Regions from separate parts of the Homo sapiens genome. Here region 1 is linked to region 2. Evidence: promoter capture Hi-C in 16 types of primary human blood cells and fetal thymus (Javierre and others, 2016). All regions are on one chromosome and are shown on one strand. The core of a region is centred on a gene start or on the middle of the fragment in contact, and the rest is flanking DNA. Distances in the headings are between cores, read along the strand shown. Region 1 overlaps IDO2 (indoleamine 2,3-dioxygenase 2). Region 2 holds the start of GINS4 (GINS complex subunit 4).

What was found. Contacts are between HindIII fragments. The CHiCAGO score rates a contact against its expected background, and 5 or more counts as called.
Region 1: a contact is called between a fragment that was not itself captured here and the fragment with the promoter of GINS4 in region 2, in 1 of 17 cell types (neutrophils). The highest score is 6.1, in neutrophils.

What each region holds. Positions count from the first base shown.
Region 1 is chr8:39,991,733-39,995,334 of GRCh38, forward strand. All of the region lies in intron 8 of IDO2 (indoleamine 2,3-dioxygenase 2), which reads left to right. Among named protein-coding and RNA genes, the nearest start is that of IDO2, 59 kb to the left of the region's middle. The HindIII fragment of the contact is 3,832 bases long and covers 1-3,195 here.
Region 2 is chr8:41,527,162-41,531,381 of GRCh38, forward strand. GINS4 (GINS complex subunit 4) reads left to right here and starts at 2,100. Exons shown (of 8, transcript NM_032336.3): 1 at 2,100-2,235; 2 at 3,023-3,137. The coding sequence starts at 3,042. RefSeq lists a silencer at 1,646-2,075. The HindIII fragment of the contact is 13,395 bases long and covers 1-4,220 here.

The sequences.
Region 1 (3,602 bases), core at 30-2,529, 1.5 Mb before region 2:
GCTAATTTTTGTATTTTTAGTAGAGATGGGGTTTCGCCATGTTGGCCAGGCTGGTCTCGAACTCCTGACCTCAGGTGATCTGCCTACCTTGGCCTCCCAAAGTGCTGGGATTACAGCCGTGAGCCACTGCGCCCAGCTCAGACTCACTTTTTAGGCCCAGGCCAACCTGCTGTGTTCTCCTGCTCAGCTTCTGCAGGAGGTCTCATCGTCTAAGGAGGTCCCAGGGCTACCGCCCTTGTTTTCTCAAAAGGCACATTTTCCCACACAGACATAATTTCGTTTCAGTGTTTTACTCCTAGTCACATTCATCTATATGGACAAATAGCTGAATGGATTGGACTGTGTTTTCTAAAGATGGCCCCATGCCATCCTGCGCGCTCCTCCACAGCGTGGCCTGGGCATTCCTTTCGACCAGGGGTGGACTCTGTGCCCCTACTTGTGATGTACGTGTTGCCAATAGAATGTAGTATAGGGGATAGCACAGACTTCTGAGGCAAGACTAGAAGAGGTGATGCAGGTTTAACCTTGTGTCCTGAGCCACTAGGTAAAAAGTCCACCTACCCTGAGATCACTCTGCTGTGCAAACGACACAGGCAAACCACATCAAAGAGCCATGTGGGTTCTCCAGTTGGCTTCTGCCCAGGAGTGAAGGTGCCCTCAGATGGTTCTAGGCTCCCATCCCAACTTATGTCCTGTCTTGAAGTCTTCCCAACTGAGGCACCAGCCACTGTGGAGCAGAGTCAAGCCATTGCCATCTTGTTCTGCCCAGATTCCCCATCAACAGAATATAGTGGTTTTTTCACACCTCTATGTTTGGAGTGGTTTCTATGCAGCAATAGTAACCACAAGAAATAAAGTTATAAAAATAGTAACAAACACTAGAAACTGCAAGATTTAAGGAATCACCTGAATGCTCCAGTCATTGTCTCTGGTTTGTAATGATAAACTTTCTTCTGCGTGATAAATAGAGCTTGGCTGGACTTTTTCCCTCTGCTTCCATTCCCCAAAATGGAGCGTACCAAACAATTGCTTCTTTCAGAGCCCAGCTTTAGCAAGAGTCATGAGCTCTAATCCCTTCATCCATAAATACTTCCTTTCCAGGCACGTAGAGCCCTTCACACTCAGGGCTGAGTAGAAAATGCCTGTTGCAGACTGCAGTGGCGTTTTGGAGAGCCACCCTCCTGGTACCTGAGTCACTAGTCCTTTGCCCAGCTTTTCTCAGTTTTGTAAAGCGCTCACTTCTGAGTGGAAGACAGAACCAGCCCGGTCTATTTTCATAATCTGCCCCCATAAGGCAGAAGTCCACACGGTACTGGAAACATAACCATATCTATGTCAGTCTGCCACTGCCTGCCGCCTGTCAACCGTGCGTGTCTGCATCCAGTCCTTCTTTGGAGCTGCTTTCCAGCGACTCAGCCAGATCTGAGCTTTCTGACTCATTGGAAGGTTAAACTATTTTCAGACTTTCAAGTGTTGAGATTATTAAGACATGTGTTTTTTTTTTTCTTCTTTTTTTGGCATGCTTACTGATCGCCCCTGTTCTCTAGGAAGTAATGTTCTTCTTGGAAAAGGTGAAGGATATTTTTCTCCCCAAAAAGCCATGGAAATGTTTGCCTTTATTTACTTCCAAATTAACAGAATTTCCAGCTTTTGCTTGACCCATCGGCGCATTGGCAGCGTTAAGAATTTTTTCTTTTAGCAGTAATGAGGAGTCGAAGGGTTTCTTCCTAACCATTTAGTGTATGCATTTAAATCAGGTTTCTTTTTGAGTAAATTGGGGCTAAGCTGTAGTGTGAACTTCTGCTACTGTTCCTTTCTCATTAGTTCACTTGATTTCATGGAAGGAATTTTCCATCTCAGCCTGTGAACTTATTTTGTCTAAACTCAATTGGAAAGTAATTAACACTGAGATTCTTCTTTAATAAATTCTATATGATAATAAAATCATACAAACATCTCTTTATTTTTCTTTTTGACCTAGAAAAGATGTTCACAGGCCAGACCTGGTGGCTGAAGCCTGTAATCCCAGCACACTGAGAGGAAGAGGCGGGTGGATCACATGAGGTCAGTCCGAGGGCAGGGTAGCCAACGTGGTGAAACCCCATCTCTAGTAAAAACACAAAAATTAGCTGGGCATGGTGGCACATGCCTGCAATCCCAGCTACTCAGGAGGCTGAGGCAGGAGAATCACTTGAACCTGGGAGATGGAAGTTGCAGTGAGCCTAGATCCTGCCACTGCACTCCAGCCTGGGCGACAGAGTGAGACTCTGTCCCCAAAAAAATAAATAAATAAAAGATGTTCACAATATATTGTTAAGTGAAAAAAGCAGGCTACATAACTTGCATAATATGAGTGCATTTTAATAAAAATATACATATTTAGCAAAATAAAAGGACAAATGGTATTTATTAAAATATTTACGTTGATTATTTCAACACAGAGGATGATAGTTGATTTTGCTTAATTTCTTCCCTCCTTCTTTTCAATTTGAATTTTCTATAATGAAGATTGTTTCTTTTTCTTTCTTTCTTTTTTTTTTTTGAGATGGAGTTTCGCTCTTGTTGCCCAGGCTGGGGTGCGATGGCGCCATCTCGGTTCACCACAACCTCTGCGTCCCAGGTTTAAGTGATTCTTCTGCCTCAGCCTCCCTAGTAGCTGGGATTATAGGCGTGTGCCACCACACCCGGCTGATTTTGTATTTTTAGTAGAGACGGGCTTTCTCCATGTTGGTCAGGCTGGTCTCGAACTCCTGACCTTAGGTGATCTGCCCACCTCAGCCTCCCAAAGTGCTGGGATTACAGGCATGAGCCACCGCGCCTGGACTGATTATTTTTTAAATAGGGTTAGAAAGTGAGGAAGTTACTAAACTCCGATTAGCCCAAATATGCCCCAGTGGGTCCTTCTGGCAGAGTAAATGTCTCGGTTCAGCCTGAATCTGGGAAATTGTTCCTACGGTTCAGCCTGAATCTGGGAAATTGTTCCTACCTTATAAACTGGAGTATCCTTCAGAAATGACATTTACTCAAACTTCCTTTTAGGCAGACTGCATAATAGCAATTTTTAATATTAACCATTTAAAAAAAACCTTCAGATTAATTAACACCAAAAGAATAATTGGGAAAATACAACTCCTCACTTTAAAAAAGAAACAACCAAAGTAAATACTAAAAAACTATATGATGTTATATTATCTAAGCTTAGTTTACTGCAAAGATCAAGAGCACACTACTAGTTGACGGCCTCTATTCACACTGTTCATAGCCCTCGCTCGCTTCTCCAGCCATTCACTCACTCATGCAAAAGGTCTGTACACACAATGATGCCTGATGGTATAATAGGAACCTTAACATTTCAATTAAAAGGCAAAATGAGGACACTTACCATCAGCCTATAAAATTATTCTTATTATTCTTCTTCTTCTTCTCCTCCTCCTCCTCCTCTTCTTCCTTCTTCTTCTTCTTCTTCTTCTCCTTCTCCTTCTCCTTCTCCTTCTCCTTCTCCTTCTCCTTCTCCTTCTCCTTCTTCTTCTTCCTCTTCTTCTTCTTCTTCTTCTTCTTTTTTTTTTGAGATGGAGTCTTGCTCTGTTGCCCAGGCTGGAGTG
Region 2 (4,220 bases), core at 850-3,349:
ATGAAACCCCACCTCTACCAAAAATACAAAAAATTAGCCAGGCATGGTACACACCTGTAGTCCCAGCTACTCATGGGGGCTGAAGTGGGAGGATCACCTGAGCCCAGGAAGGTCAAGGGTGCAATGAGCCGTGACCGCCCCACTGCACTCCAGGCTGCGCGACAGAGTGAGGCCCTGTCTCTAAATAAATAAATAGAAGGTGAGAACATAGACCCCACCTCTTGATGGAGGAGTGTCAATGTCACATGGTAAGAAGGGTATGTGGGGTGAGATCCATATTAGAGCAGCTATGTTTGGGAAACACACTCTGCCACAACCAAAAACCACTGGATTACCAAACCGTTGAAACAGACCTTGAAATAACCACCTATTTGCCACTCACAAAATTCATTTCATAAGACACAGCTCAAATGTCCCTTCCTTTTGGGAATCCCGTGCTGATATGCCCCAGCTTACACAGCGCTTTGTAAAGATGCCTACTCTCTCACTCGGCTTATTCTATTGTCATTTTCATAACAGGATTGTAATCAGGCAGGTACGATCATACTATATTAGCCAATCATTTTACTAGTCAATCAATATGACATCATAGGGCAGCTTTGCAAAGAGCCCTCAGATTGATGGAGAAGAGATACTTTTAGGGAAGCCAGAAGCAACGCTTTGCACAGAAAACAAAGGACAGCAAAGAGAAAAGAATCAGCAACTCAGAGAAGAAAAACTGGATCACACAAAGATGGAAAAAATATATACATATACAGACATGGGTTTTTGTGCTTTTCCCCTCCAGAAGGTGAGTTGAAAGCATTGCCCCAAAGCAGTGATTCTCTTTTCTTTTTTCTTTTTTTTTCTTTTTTTTGAGATGGAGTCTGGCTCTGTCTCCCAGGCTGGAGTGCAGTGACGCCATCTTGGCTCACTGCAGGCTCCGCCTCCCGGGTTCACGCCATTCTCCCGCCTCAGCCTCCCGAGTAGCTGGGACTACAGGCGCCCGCCACCACGCCCGGCTAATTTTTTTGTATTTTTAGTAGAGACGGGGTTTCACCATGTTAGCCAGGATGGTCTCGATCTCCTGACCTCGTGATCCGCCCACCTCGGCCTCCCAAAGTGCTGGGATTACAGGCGTGAGCCACCGCGCCCGGCCCCAAAGCAGTGATTCTCAAACCTCAGCTGTGTCAGGGTCACCGGGAGGGCCTGGGTCTGGTGAAATACCCCCAGTTTCTGATTCGGTGGGCCAGGGTGGGGCCTGAGAACCTGCATTTTCACGGATTCCCAGGCGATGCTTCTGCTGGTCGTCCGATCCCAGGCTTCAAGAACCAGTACCCACTTTGTGAGGCCGAGGTGGGAGGATTGCTTGGATCCTTGAGTTCGAGACCAGCCTGGCCATCATAGGGAGAACCTCCCCACCCCCAACCCCGCCACAGTTCTTTTTTTTTTTTTTTTTAATTAAAAAATAACTGGGCGTGGTGGCGCTGGCCTGTGGTCCCAGCTACTCCGGAGGCTGAGGTGGGAGGATCGCTGGAGCCCGGGAGGCGGAGGTTGCAGTGAGCTGTGGTGGTGCCACTGCACTCCAGCCTGGGCACCAGAACGAGACCCTGTCTCAAGAAAGATGAAAAGGAATATACTGGAGATTCTGAAGGCAATGACCACACTGACCACAGGTGAAACCCCGCAAAGACGGAGGAACCCAAAGAGCCACGAGAGCTGTGGGTGGAGACGGCCCAGGAGGCTGCAGCGGCCTGCTTTCAACAGCATACTTCTGGGTGGGACCCCCCGGGGCGGACACCGCCGCTCCCCTTGGCCGCGGTGGCGGGCGCCCCCTCCCGACGCTCTTGGGTAGTGCAACCCGGACCGCACAGCGGAGCGGCCGGCCCCCAGGTGGGCGGGGCCAACCCGGACCAGCCTCCCGCCGCCTCAAGTCCTTGGGTTGCTGGGACTGCAGGCCGCCGCGAAGACAGTCCCCGCCCGCCGGGTGGGCGGGCCCAAGGAGACCGCCCCGCTCTTCCCCCCGGGCCTTGATTGGTCAGCGTCGCCCTTGCGCGATGACGTCGTGCCTGGGCGGAAACTTTGCGAGAGTAGCGCGGGAGCTGAGAAGTTGCAGGGTTGAGTTGGTCCCGGCAAGTCCTTGAGCAGTTTGTTCCTCTGTCTTCCCGCTTCCTGGTGCCCCGACTGCGTCCCCACGAACGCCCCGTCCTTACCGCCGGCTGCTGTGGAGTGCCTCGCTGTCTCCCAGGTCCCCGAGTGAGCGTCGAATGGGACCTCTGTGGCTAGGGCAGGCCTGTGTGGGTGGCACTGAGAGGGAGGAGGGGAGGGGGATGTTCGCAGTTTCCTTGCGACCCCAGGGACTTTCTTTGTCCCCGCCATCCACCTCCTTAGGCCTTTGGGATCGCCGACTGGTCTAATGTCGCCGGCCCTTGTGGCTCTGGGAAATTAGCATTGATTAATCTTCCTAACAATTTTTGTTTTTATAGAGACAGGATCTCCCTATGTTGCCCAGGCTGGTCTCGAACTCCTGGGCTCAAGGTATCTTCCTGCCTCGGCTTCCCAAAGTGCTGGGATTACAGGCGTGAGCCCGGCCAGCTCCTAATAATGTTAAGTGCTTGCTAGGAGTCAAGCGCTGTGCTGAGCGCAGGGGCTTCCCACGTCATTGCGTCCCCAGTGCTTAGTGCCAGGCACTGAGCAGAGGCGCGATTCGTATTTGAACTAAAACGAACCCCGTCCCTGAGGAACAAGACCTCTACTGGGAAGTCAAAGAAATGAATAGTGATTGTATGGTGTGATGGGTGCTCAGCTCTTGGTGGACAGAAGTAAGGGGGAGGCTTGTTTGAGAAACGGATACCTGACCTAAGCCTTGGAGGAAGAGGCAGACACTGGAAAACTAGAGTCCCTGCGTTCTCTCACCACTTGCTAAAGGGCCTCTACAACCCCAGGAAACCTCAATAAACCTTTCCTTTCTCCAGATAGATGTCTGTTCTTGCAGATAATTAGAAAACGCATTGCAGAGTATTGGTTCTTTCCCTCTCATTAGGTTCCTGGTTTCAGAGAAGATGACCGAAGAAGTGGATTTCCTGGGACAGGACTCTGATGGGGGTAGTGAGGAAGTGGTCCTAACTCCTGCAGAGCTCATTGAAAGATTGGAGCAGGTAAGCATCCCAGATCGAATCCCTTTGCTCCAGTCAGCCTTTTTATTTAGTTCAACTGTGAATATCAGGGATCACAAGATGAGGAAACGGAATTTGGGGCTTACTTTAGAACAGGGACTGGATCTTACCATCTACATGGAAACGGGAAGCAAGAAGGACATCCTCTGTTAGAGACCTCATCATATCAAACACAGCATCCCCAAGTGGGGTCAGTAAGGGACAGCTTTGGGCACATTCAGTGAACAGTTCACAGAGCAAGGATCCACGTGATATTTTCAGGGACTGTAGAGGTCCCTGAACTTCTTTACCTTAGTCCCTTGAACATCTGCTGTTTCCCTGGAGAATGCCTGTTTAGCAAGAAAATGCTGAAATGCCTGTAAGGGAAAACTGGTCATATTTTTCCTTTTTCTCACATGTTTTTTCTTGAGTCGTCTGCTCTCCATATGTCCACTGCTTATCTAAAATCCTTTCTGAAATATTTCTCCTTTAAGTTGTAATAGCTATGACTTACTGCATATTTCCCATGTGCCAGTAACTGTGTTCTTTACACTTATATCTCATGATGCTCTGGTAACAGGAGTTCAGACTATCTGGATTTAAATCTGTCTGTGACACTCCTCTGTTATGTGATCTTGAGCAAGTTAGGGAGTTTGTCTCAAGCCGTTGCTTGCCTATAAAATTGAGACAATAGGGCCGGGCACGGTGGCTCAAGCCTGTAATGCCAGCACTTTGGGAGGCTGAGGTGGGCGGATCACCTGAGGTCCAGGAGTTCGAGACCAGCCTTACCAACATGGTAAAATCCCGTCTCTACTAAAAAACAAAAATTAGCCGGATGTGGTGGCGCATGCCTGTAATCCCAGCTACTCGGGAGGCTAAGGCCGGAGGATCACCTGAACCTGGGAGGCAGAGGTTGTGGTGAGCCAAGATCCTACCCACCATTGCACTCCAGCCTGGGCAACAAGAGTGAAACTCCGTCTCAAAAAAATAATAAAATAAAATTGAGATGATAATAGTGTCTATGTCCTGGAGTTTTTGATTAAATGTGGTAATTGTGTAAAGCACTCAGCATGCTATCTGACACAT